2 separate regions of the Homo sapiens genome follow, and region 1 is linked to region 2. Evidence: promoter capture Hi-C in human tissues and cell types (Jung and others, 2019). All regions are on one chromosome and are shown on one strand. Each heading gives the region's core, a stretch centred on a gene start or on the middle of the fragment in contact. The rest is flanking DNA. Distances are from core to core; before and after follow the strand shown. Region 1 overlaps VPS13D (vacuolar protein sorting 13 homolog D). Region 2 holds the start of TNFRSF1B (TNF receptor superfamily member 1B).

Region 1 (4,989 bases), core at 1,241-3,740, 110 kb before region 2:
ATCTGCCGTCTTCCTCTAGATAACCCACCCCTCCTCCATATGAAAAAGGCTGACAAGACGGATTCCCCATGACAAAAGGATTCCACAATTATTGGAACAAGGTTTCAACAATGGTATTATGCATGGGTGATATATCTTTGAAAATATATATTCCTTCCAACATGTAATATACATAAATATATATCATATTTATAGAGTACTAATATAAACATATGACTTCAACTGCCCTGACATGAATTTACCTGAACTGGATTGACAAATTTTCCTTCAATCTTCATGATGCTAGAAGTTCCCAGGTCATCTGGGCTAAGAGAAAAAGTCAATTCAGATTCTCTCTCTATAGGGATCTTCTCCAGTTTAAACTGAATGGTGGTGTTGTTCAGGATGTGAAAAGCTGGCATAAAAGAGATGAAATGATAGACCATAAACCTTAATATTTACTTCATTACTGCTGATTAAACGTAGAATATACAAAATACAGCCCATGAGTTACACTTAGACCAGGAGGGCAGGTTAGCCTGGCACCCGGGGTCTATGATTGAGAGCAAACCTTGACAGCTATCCTGAGGCCAAAACTCATAGCAAGCTGAGGTACAAGATACATTTACACAAAAAAAGAAACAATATTTTCATCACATGCTCCACTTGGTAGCTTCAAAGCACGATGTGGTGAACATTATTCCAGTCCAGAGACTACATTATGCTTCTCTGAGCCACCCAAGCTGGCATTTTCCAAACCGAATTATTCATCCTTACCTAGCTTTCAGATACAGATGTATCCCTCTTATTAGGCCTAAATCAGAATCTAGGACAATACAAGTTCTAAGTAAACAACTTTTATCCAAGCAGAGAAAGCTATCTTTTGATAAGTATAAAAACAAATCAGTGAATTAACATCTGATGACCACAGAAGGGTAAGTTCTCAAAGGCATTAATTTCATCACCAATAAATAAAGGCGTGCTCTAGGACTTACCTGATCTCTGCGTGCCAAGACCAACAGATTGGACTGTTTGGTTTTAGCTGATCAGATCCAGAATACAAACATAAGCTTTTATTCTTAGAACCTTGGACCAACCCATTATAGAAGAAGATGGCAGAATATTAAAGAAGATAATATCCACAAACTATTTACATCAACCCCTTGAGGCATCTTGGGCTAAAATGTTTAACTAGGAAGGATCGACAGCTTGGGAACAGAAAATCAGATATATTTGACCAAATTAAACAATACTTTAACAACATCCATCCACTGAAGCATCTCTGTAAATGAGCACTCATACAGTTTCAAGCTGGAACACTTCAAAAAAATAAATTCCTGCCTGGGCGCGGCTGGTCACACTTGTAATCCCAACACTTTGGGAGGCCGAGGCAGGCAGATCACCTGAGGTCACGAGTTCGAGACCAGCCTGGCCAACATGGTGAAACCCTGTCTCTACTAAAAATACAAAAATTAGCCGGGCGTGGTAGCGGGTGCCTGTAAGTAATCCCAGCTACTTGGGAGGCTGAGCCAGGAGAATCACTTGAACCTGGGAGGTAGAGGTTGCAGTGAGCTGAGACTGCATCATTGCACTCCAGCCTGGGCAACAAGAGCAAAACTCCGTCTCAAAAAACCAAAAAAATAAAAATAAAAGTAAGTAAATTCCTGTTTTGTCAAATATGACATTAAATGGAAAAGGGTGAAAACATGCCAACCTACTACAAGGCATTCTATTAAAACTCTTTGATTTCTTAAATATTAACTGAGGATTATTCTAAAAGAAAAGGATTTTATTGTTGCTGTTTTACGCAAAGGACTCCGTGAGCTGGGTTTTCAATCATTAAACAAAATAGAACAAAAGACTGATGCTCCTCACCTTGACCTCTATGCAAAGATTCAAAGAAATCATGTCGTGTGAAATGAGCTTCCTCCTGACTGTTGGCACTGCCAGACCCGGAAGGTGGGCAAAACATCCGGCTTCCTTCAGACCCAACAGCTTCTCTACCTGCCAACTGGGTGCAATTCAAAGAATACAGTTTAATGTCCTTGATTTCCACCTGCAGACGGTCACTTCTGGATTCATCATCTCCCGCCACAAAATTCTGGATGAATATCTGTCCCAAGTGTCCCACCAACAACTCAGGACTCCCCGGCTTCCGAGGGATAGAAACAACTGGTGATTCAATGTTTATGTTCAAGATTAGCTTTACAGTGTCCAAATGAGACGAAGCTAGGTCAAACCCATATATTTCATTTTCCTCTAAGATAAAGGGTTCCCGAGTCTTCCTTGGAGTTTCAAAGAGCGATACCATCTCGCTATACTCGGCAGTCTTGGTAGCTAGTACTGTGGTGACTTTGGTGGCTGCGCTTTTCAGCATACCTCGAAAATTTTCTTCCAGTTCATCCATGGATAACGTCAACTCCTTCAAAAACTTAGCAGAGTGGTTATAATGTAAAGAAGCCATCTTCAGGTTGAGAAAACACTCCTGTTTAGATCTCTCAACAAACGTGAAACTCAAAGCTTCAGTGAGGGCTGCATCTTCCATTCTGACAAACACAGATTCAAAGTAGCCAATATCACTGATGATATTTTCATAGCCTACAGAATTCCCAATGCTGACAACATACTGGTTTTTAACGTTATCTTGTGTCAAATCCATAAGCTGTAAACAGCCAAGAGAACCATTCATGTCAAACGTGCTACCCATTGAGACATTAACTTTGGTGCCACCTATACTTGCAGTTGCAATTTTTCTGCCATATTTCTCTCTATTTGCCATGCCCACTGTCCGAAGAAGCAGTAAGTTCAGCCTATGGATTTCCACTGCAACCTCAGTGTTTTGTTCATATGTAGACTGGTAAGTTCCTTGTTCTCTGAAGCTTCTTTCAAAATCAGTCATTAAAGGTTGAGGACTTAAATCATCTTTTTCCTTGGGAAAGGATTTTTGAAGAAAACCAATTAGCTCCACAATCGTCTCTGGATTGAGGATAATATCTAAATTATTCACCTGTAGGGAAATCACCTGAAGAGTACTGTCTAAATTCATCGATGGGCACTCTGAACTCACAAACTGATATTCCAACTTAATAAGGGACTCTTGCTCTTTGGTAAGAATTTTGTCAAGTGAAACACTAGTAGCTGATCGGTCGTTCAGTGTAGCTCCATCAGTTAAGTGGGCCACATTCGGTCCAGAGACAGGAGACTGGGCCCTGCTATCCCGAAGGCTTCCCGTTGGAATATCAAAGCTCAAGTTCTTATGTGAAGCCATCAAAAGGTCAAAATCAGCACCATATGTCTGCATGGTATCCACCAGGAGCAAACCATGAACAGTTAGGGAGACTTCAGCATCATAAGGCCTCTTCACAAAGTGAGCATTGGTACCAAACACCTTGAGCACAGAAATGTACCGGCCATTGCTCTCAACACCAAGCTGCATACAGTTCACTTTAAATTCCGCCAGGAGGAGCTGCGACTCCACCAGAACCTCGCGGGTATGCTGCTCCAACAACACAATGCTCTGGGTTAAATTCATTACGGAGTCTTGCAAACTTCCCCGCTGCTCCTCCTGGGGAAAAATCTTTTCTTTAATCTGAGTGTCAGAAGTTTTCATTTCTGGGGTGGTGAGGAGAGCAAAGCAATTCTTTAGTGCAGATATTTTATCTTCATTAATGTGGATTTTTAAGTCTGGTAAGTTGCCTGAGAGCACGGCTCCTGGATATTTGGGATCTGAAGTATAAATCAATCGACGCTCTAACTGTAGGTGAACGTTGAACTTCTCTACCACATGTGTTGGTCCCACGTCAATATCCTGGACATGCTTCCAATTGTCTTTCACTCGTCCAACCATGATCTGGAGGTCCATAAATGACAGCGAGTACCTCTCATACATCTTTGTGCTCATTAAATGTGCTTGAAGCTGTTCTTCACTGAACTCAACTCCAGAAAAGGGAGGTGTTTTCTCTCCGTTGCTGCTGCTTGACTCGGGAGGTGGGGTGTTAGGAGGTGTGGCCAGGGGGGTCTTATATTCATCATCACTAAACTGGGTCTCTTCAGATGCTGACCCATCCCTACTTTTCCTCCTGGAGTTATCTGAAGATAAAAAAAAGAAGATTCAAATATATGTCTGCTATTTCCCTCCTCTTTCCCTTAATGTAATAATTATGAAAGGTAGAGAATCAACCAACCCCAGTTTGTTTAAGAAAACTGAGGAAAACTCTTAAGCATAATATCTTTGTTTACCATTTTCTAAGTGTGAATTTACCTATAAATTTGGAAATCAAAACACAAATATAAAAAAGTATGGACACGAAAAAAGCTGGAGGCCCCCTGACATGAGCGCCACCTGCTGACCCAATGCTGCCTCCCCACTTCTCCCCTGCCTTGCCATGGGCGTGAGCTGCTTTCACCAACCCTTTCTTACGTCCCTCTCTAGAGTCTTTTATTTCTTTTCCTTTTTCTGTGTGTTCATTTGTTTCCCCCACTGGAATGTTCTTTTATTTCAGGTGAAGTCTCACTCTGTCACCCAGGCTGGAGTGCAATGGCACGATCTCAGTTCACTGCAACCTCTGCCTCTCAGGTTTAAGCGATTCTACTGTCTCGGCCTCCCAAGCAGCTGGGATTACAGGCATGTACCACCATGCCCGGCTAATTTTTTGTATTTTTTACATTTTTATTTATTTATTTTTATTTATTTTTGAGATGGAGTCTCATTCTGTCACCCAGGCTGGAGTGCAGTGGCATGATCTTGGCTCACTACAACCTCCACCTCCCAGGTTCAAGAGATTCTCCTGCCTCAGCCTCCCGGACAGCTGGGATTACATGTGCCTGCTACCATGACTGGCTAATTTTTGTACTTTTAGTAGACACAGGGTTTCACCATGTTGGCCAGACTGGTCTCGAACTCCTGACCTCAGGTGATCCACCCACCTCAGCCTCCCTAAGTGCTGGGATTACAGGCGTGAGCCACCGCACCTGGCCAATTTTTTGTATTTTAATAGAGACAGGGTTTCA
Region 2 (5,327 bases), core at 1,832-4,331:
AGACAGAGGGCAAAGAGACAGAGACGTGGTGGAAGGAGGGAAGAGCCCCCAGGGCCAGCAGGTACCCCAGATCACCCAACTCCTCTTTGACATCCAGCCTGGGAGCCCCCAACCTCTCCCCTAACCCAAACTGGCCCCAGGCCCTGGGTGATGAGGAGGCAAATAGTGGCACCTCAGCACCAAGACTTCCAGGGGTAGGTGGGCCAGGCCCATCAGGCAGAGACCCCTCATCCTCCTCCCCAGACAGCCCAGACCCTGCTCATCCCCATCAGAGGGCACCAAGCACTCACCTACTGCCAGGTTTACTGGCATTTCTTTGTCAAATGAATAAATGGCTAAATGAATGAATGATGTTTTCCATACCAGCTGGCAAATAAGACTTTTAAACGGGGCAAAAGCCCTGCTGGCAGTGAGTCGGCTGCGTCCATGGCTAGCTCAGGTCTCCTGGGGGCTTCTTCTGCAGCTCAGTTGACTTCCATCCTGAGAACCCACTGTGTGTGAGGGCCTGGCTGGGAGCATGAGTGCAGATACGGGCACGGGGAGGGTGCAGTGAAAGGAGCTTGGGAATCAGGCAGACCTGCATTCAAATCCCACCCCCAGCTCCCCGGCCCCCAGCTCTGTGATCCTGGGAAACGCCTCAGTTTCCACATCTCTAAAGACAAACGGCACCACCCACCTCTTGGGAGTTGCTGTAAGGGAGGTTTCAGTGAAATTTTGTGACAAAGTACCTAGCCCAGTGCCTGGTGTTTAGTGGGTGTTCAGAAATCAGGAGCTATGGCGATGCTACTGATGAGAAGGAAGAGGAACCCACAGTTCTGGCCCTGAAGACACCTTCCATCCACTGAGGGGGATAAAACACAGCTAGATTAAAAAGCAGAATGCAATCTGTCCTCAAAGGGAACAAAAGGGCCTGGGAGTTCGAAGAGAAGATCAAATCCAACTGAGAATGCGGAAAGGCTTTCCTGGAGAGAATGGCATTTGCAGAAGGCCTTGAAGGATAGGGGTAAGAAGTGTCCCTTGGAGAGGGGATGGCACGGACAATGCTTTTTGCACAATGACACACACGATGACCATCATCAGTTCTACAGAGGCGGGGGAGCACATGTGCAGGGAGGCGCGAGGAAGAGTTCAGGTACCTTACTCTGGCCTGGGATCTCCAGGGGAGTTTCTGCCTCAACCATTGGGAGCCACAGGAGGCTCCCCAGGCAAACAGAGAGGTGCCTCATGCTTGAGAAGGGTCTCTCTGCCAAGGATCAGCGGGAGAGGGGGCAGGGCCGGGAGACCAGCTACAAGGCTGCGGCAATAGTCCGGGTGGGGTCGTGGGGAGCAGGGATGAGGGAGGAGGGAATATGAGCTGCCGCAGGAGCTGGTCAGGAAGGGAAGGAAGTGGGAGGGAACCTCCTCCAGCTACTCCAGGACTGCAGCCTGGTGTCCTGCTGAGCCCTGTGCCTGACACCCCTCTCCCATCCAGGGGCTCACATGACCCCAGAGTTCACCCAGGCAGGCCCAAGCTCAGCGGCAGGAAGACCCCCTCTGAGGCCAGAGTATATGGCATGACCCCAAAGTCAAGCTGGGGACCACGGTCGTCCCCATTCACACTCGGCCCTAGAGTGGGGACTCTCCTGACCCAAAGGCCACCCAGGACTTACTCTGGGGCAGTTCTCCAGGACCCACTCCTGACACCCACTGTCGGTGAGTCAATTCTAGTCTGACAGCCCCCATCTTCCACCCACAAGAACTGGACTCTCTGGCCTCAGATCAACAAGTCACCTTATGTCACCACAGAAGCCAGTGCCACCTCCCACCTTCCTCCTCGGTCAAGATGTCAGATGGGGGCAGATGGGCCATGTGTCCATCAGGGGCGGCTCTGAGGAAGGATGAACGCCCACCTTCCCCGCAGCCTCAGGGCACAGGGGCCGAAGGCAGGAGAGGCCCCCTTTGGAGGAAGAGTTCCCCCCAGACCCTTCCATGAAATACAAGTTCTCTGAGCCTCAGTTTTCCTTCTCTAAAAAATGGTTTATCTTATCTTACCAAACCATGGAGACAGTAAAACAAAAATGGGGTTATCCTATGTTACCAGACCAGGAGACAGTCAAAAACAGGCAAAGGGTGCACAGTCCCTTGTACGCCCGTTGCTACTGTGGGAGTGACGTTCATATTGAATAGGAGCCCTAGGGTTTCTGCTGTCTCCATTTTCCTGCGGCCCCCGGAGACTTCATTTGCCTTGCTCGATTACCAGCCCAGACCTCCCTCGCTTGCCCTGTCCCCAGAGGCCGCAGAAAACAGACTCTGCAGTAGCCCCCGGACGCATCGGAGGAAGCAGACAGGCAGCTCGCCCTCCAGCTGTGCCCTCAGTGGACCTGACACACACCTGGTCCTGCTCTTCAGACACAGGACCCTGGTATTTCTAAGAAATCGGAAAACCGTCGCCCAGAGGAAAAGGAAGTCTTTTGAAGAGGGTGCCCGGCGTGGGCAGTGGGGCAGCGCCCCGGCACAGCCCCTTCTCCACCGCGTGGGAGGGAAGGGCTGTCGCGGCAGTCGCCGGGGTGAGGGAAGAGGGGTCCCGGGTCTAGCGGGGGTCTGCCCAGGACCCGCTGCTCAGCCCCAAATGCCCCGGCCTGCGCTCGCGGAGGAACCAGGGTGCGCCCCTGTCACGACGCGGGTAAGAGGGGCTTCGGGGGCCAGAGTTGTGCCCCGAGCGCACGTGTGCCGGGCCCGGAGTCCCCAGCGGGTCCCCAGAGGCGCGCGTGTCTGATGCGGATGGGGGGCGGCGACTGGGACTCCCAGCCTCCCAGCCCGTGACAGCGCCCCGGGAGAGCGCGGCCCGGGCACCCGAAGGCTGCGCACCAGCCGGGTGGACATGCGGGGCGGCTGTCCCCCGTGGGCCGCGCGAGTCACCCACCTGGGCGGGCAAGGCGTGCGCCGCAGCCCAGAGCTCCAGTCCGACGGCCAGCGCGGCCCAGACGGCGACGGGCGCCATGGGTGCGGGCGGGGTCCGGTTGCCCCCTGCCCTCGCGCCCTCGCGCCCTCGCAGCCCAGCGCCTTCTCTCCAGGCTCCGCTGCGCTCGCTAGCCCTCGACTGAAAGCGAAAGCCCGCGCCCCAGCGGGCCAGAGGCCAGGCGGCGGGGCGGGGCGGGGCCAGCCGGCCTTGGACACGCCTCCCCCACGCCCCTCCCCAGACGCTGCTGGGCCTCCGACCCGACCACTCCAGCATCGCTGGGCCGATACCTCCAGCGTCACTCCCAGCACTCGGGTGACCCCTCAACCTCCTCCTATCGTCCCCTCCTCTTCGAATCACCATCTCCACCTGCCCGGCCTCCACCTGCCCGGCCTCCACCTGCCCTCCCAGCTCCCACAGGCTTCCCTGTCCCGTGAGGGTGAGGCACTAATTTGGAAAAACATCCCCCAAAGCTGACAGCTGCTTTAGGGGAACCAAGAGAATTCTAGATCATTCACTTATTTAGACTCTATTTTAAATATATTTAATTCTTATTTTTTAATTTTTTTTGAGACAAGGTCTCACTCTTTCACCCATAGCTCACTGCAGCCTCCAACTCCTGCGCTCAAGCGATCCTCCCACCTCAGCCTCCCGAGTAGCTGGGACTACAGGCTCGGGCCACCATGCTAGGCTGATTTCTTTATAGAGATGGGGTTTCGCCATGTTGTCCAGGCTGGTCTCGAACTCCTGAGCTCACGTGTTCTTCCCACCCTCAAGTGATCTTCCCGCCTCTGGCCTCCCAAGGTGCTGGGATTATAGGTGTGAGCCACTGCACTCGGCCTGTTTAGACTCTAGAGCCAGACCACCTGGGTCTGGATCTCTGAACTGACCTCATAGGACTATTCTAAAAATTTAAAGATATGTAATATACATAATGCAGTCTGTACTTTATATATACTTAAGTAAGTATCTACATATATAACAATAGGCATTTATAAATCTTGGCTGTTGTTACTACTCTTCGCGTGTTCATTTATCCTTAAACACGCATCCAGCCTTCTCACAGGGAGAAGACTCTGCACTTCCCTGCTCAAGTCTCCTGCCCAGGCAGGGGGCAGATGAACAGAGGCTGGGAGAGAATGTCACCAGGGAAGCTGCAGGGCCCTGAGGGGCTGCTGAGACCAGGCCCAGGAGAGCTGGCTTCCCCAGGATTTACATCATGACCGAGCACCCATTCCAGCTGCAATCTGTCCCCCCATCCCCACTTTGAGTGCCAGCCCTAATACAGGGCCAGCCCTGCGGGGCCAGAGCACATTCCTCCAGCCCTGGATTACGGGGGTCCTAGCCCCCAGCACATAGGGCATTTCTAAGGGTTGGGGTGGGCTGGGTGGCAGGAGGCTATTCTGTTCCCTGTTTCCTCACTGCAGGCTGCCTGAAGAGGTACAGAGACCCTTGCTCCCGGCCACCAGCCCCACAGTGGAGCCTGCAAGGATGGTGCTTCTAGGTGCTGAGTGCTGAGTGAGAAACTGGGAAGTGACTCCCTGGGGATGGAAAACCCCACCTCCTGACCAGGAGGCTGGGAAATCACCTGGTTTCCACATGTTTCTGTGACATGGACCACGCTGAGGGTGTGGCTGGTATGACCCACAGCCTTAACTCTGCAGAGCCGCTGGACAGACATGCAGAGCTCTTCTGGCCCTTATGAGAATGCCTAGGAGCAGCTCCAAGGACTCCTTGATCCCTAAAATAGAGCTGAAGGCAGGAGGGAGATGTCACCTCGTGGAAGCAGGGGACAATAGTTCTCTCTAGTTGTCCCCCACACACCTCAAGACCAATGGGACCAACAGACTGTCTGCACCCCCAACCCTCAACAACCGGCTCCTCCTGCCAGTTTCCCTATCCCAGTGAATGGCACCATCACCTCCTGAAGGTGGGGATCCTCCCAGGCTTAGGTCCCATCCTGGGAACGAATTCAAGCTTAATCTCTATGCAACATGGGGCTTCTCCCCTTCTCCAGGCCGACCCAGGCTTGAGAGCAGGCGACTTCTCTCTGAACTCTGCCAAGTGCAGTTCTTGACTCCAGGGTCAGGCCCAGGGGTGAGGGTTTGGGAAGGAAAGGGCACAGTGTTCCATGGCAGCCAAAGTTGTCACCCATCTGGCACTGGGGACTTTGGGGACAGTTTCCAGCTCATTCTCTCTGGGGCTCTAGTGCAGGTTTCTTGGAGACCTTCTTACTGACTCCACTGGCCACAGCTCCCCAGCACCTGAAATGCCTGCACCTCCTGCTGGCCACAATTCACCACCTCCCCTTCAGCTCCTACAGGATGGTGTCCTCCTGGCTTCTCCTGCTGAGGCCGCCTTACCTACTAGGAAGCACTTTGGGATGGAG

Evidence for each region. The method cuts DNA at HindIII sites, captures the fragments that hold promoters and counts their contacts. A contact is called where the count stands out against the background at its distance.
Region 1: a fragment that was not itself captured here is called in contact with the fragment with the promoter of TNFRSF1B in region 2 in 5 of the 25 tissues and cell types used here (H1 embryonic stem cells, heart right ventricle, mesendoderm cells and 2 more).

The regions. Positions count from the first base shown.
Region 1 is chr1:12,274,904-12,279,892 of GRCh38, reverse strand. VPS13D (vacuolar protein sorting 13 homolog D) reads right to left here. Exons shown (of 70, transcript NM_015378.4): 19 at 1,855-4,068; 20 at 243-394. Among named protein-coding and RNA genes, the nearest start is that of VPS13D, 47 kb to the right of the region's middle. The HindIII fragment of the contact is 4,428 bases long and covers 277-4,704 here.
Region 2 is chr1:12,164,745-12,170,071 of GRCh38, reverse strand. It overlaps TNFRSF1B (TNF receptor superfamily member 1B), which reads right to left and starts at 3,081. Exons shown (of 10, transcript NM_001066.3): 1 at 2,903-3,081. The coding sequence starts at 2,980. It overlaps MIR7846 (microRNA 7846), which reads right to left and starts at 3,129; the gene lies at 3,034-3,129. RefSeq lists an enhancer at 2,014-2,655 and silencers at 2,696-2,925, 2,936-3,245. The HindIII fragment of the contact is 11,494 bases long and covers 1-5,327 here.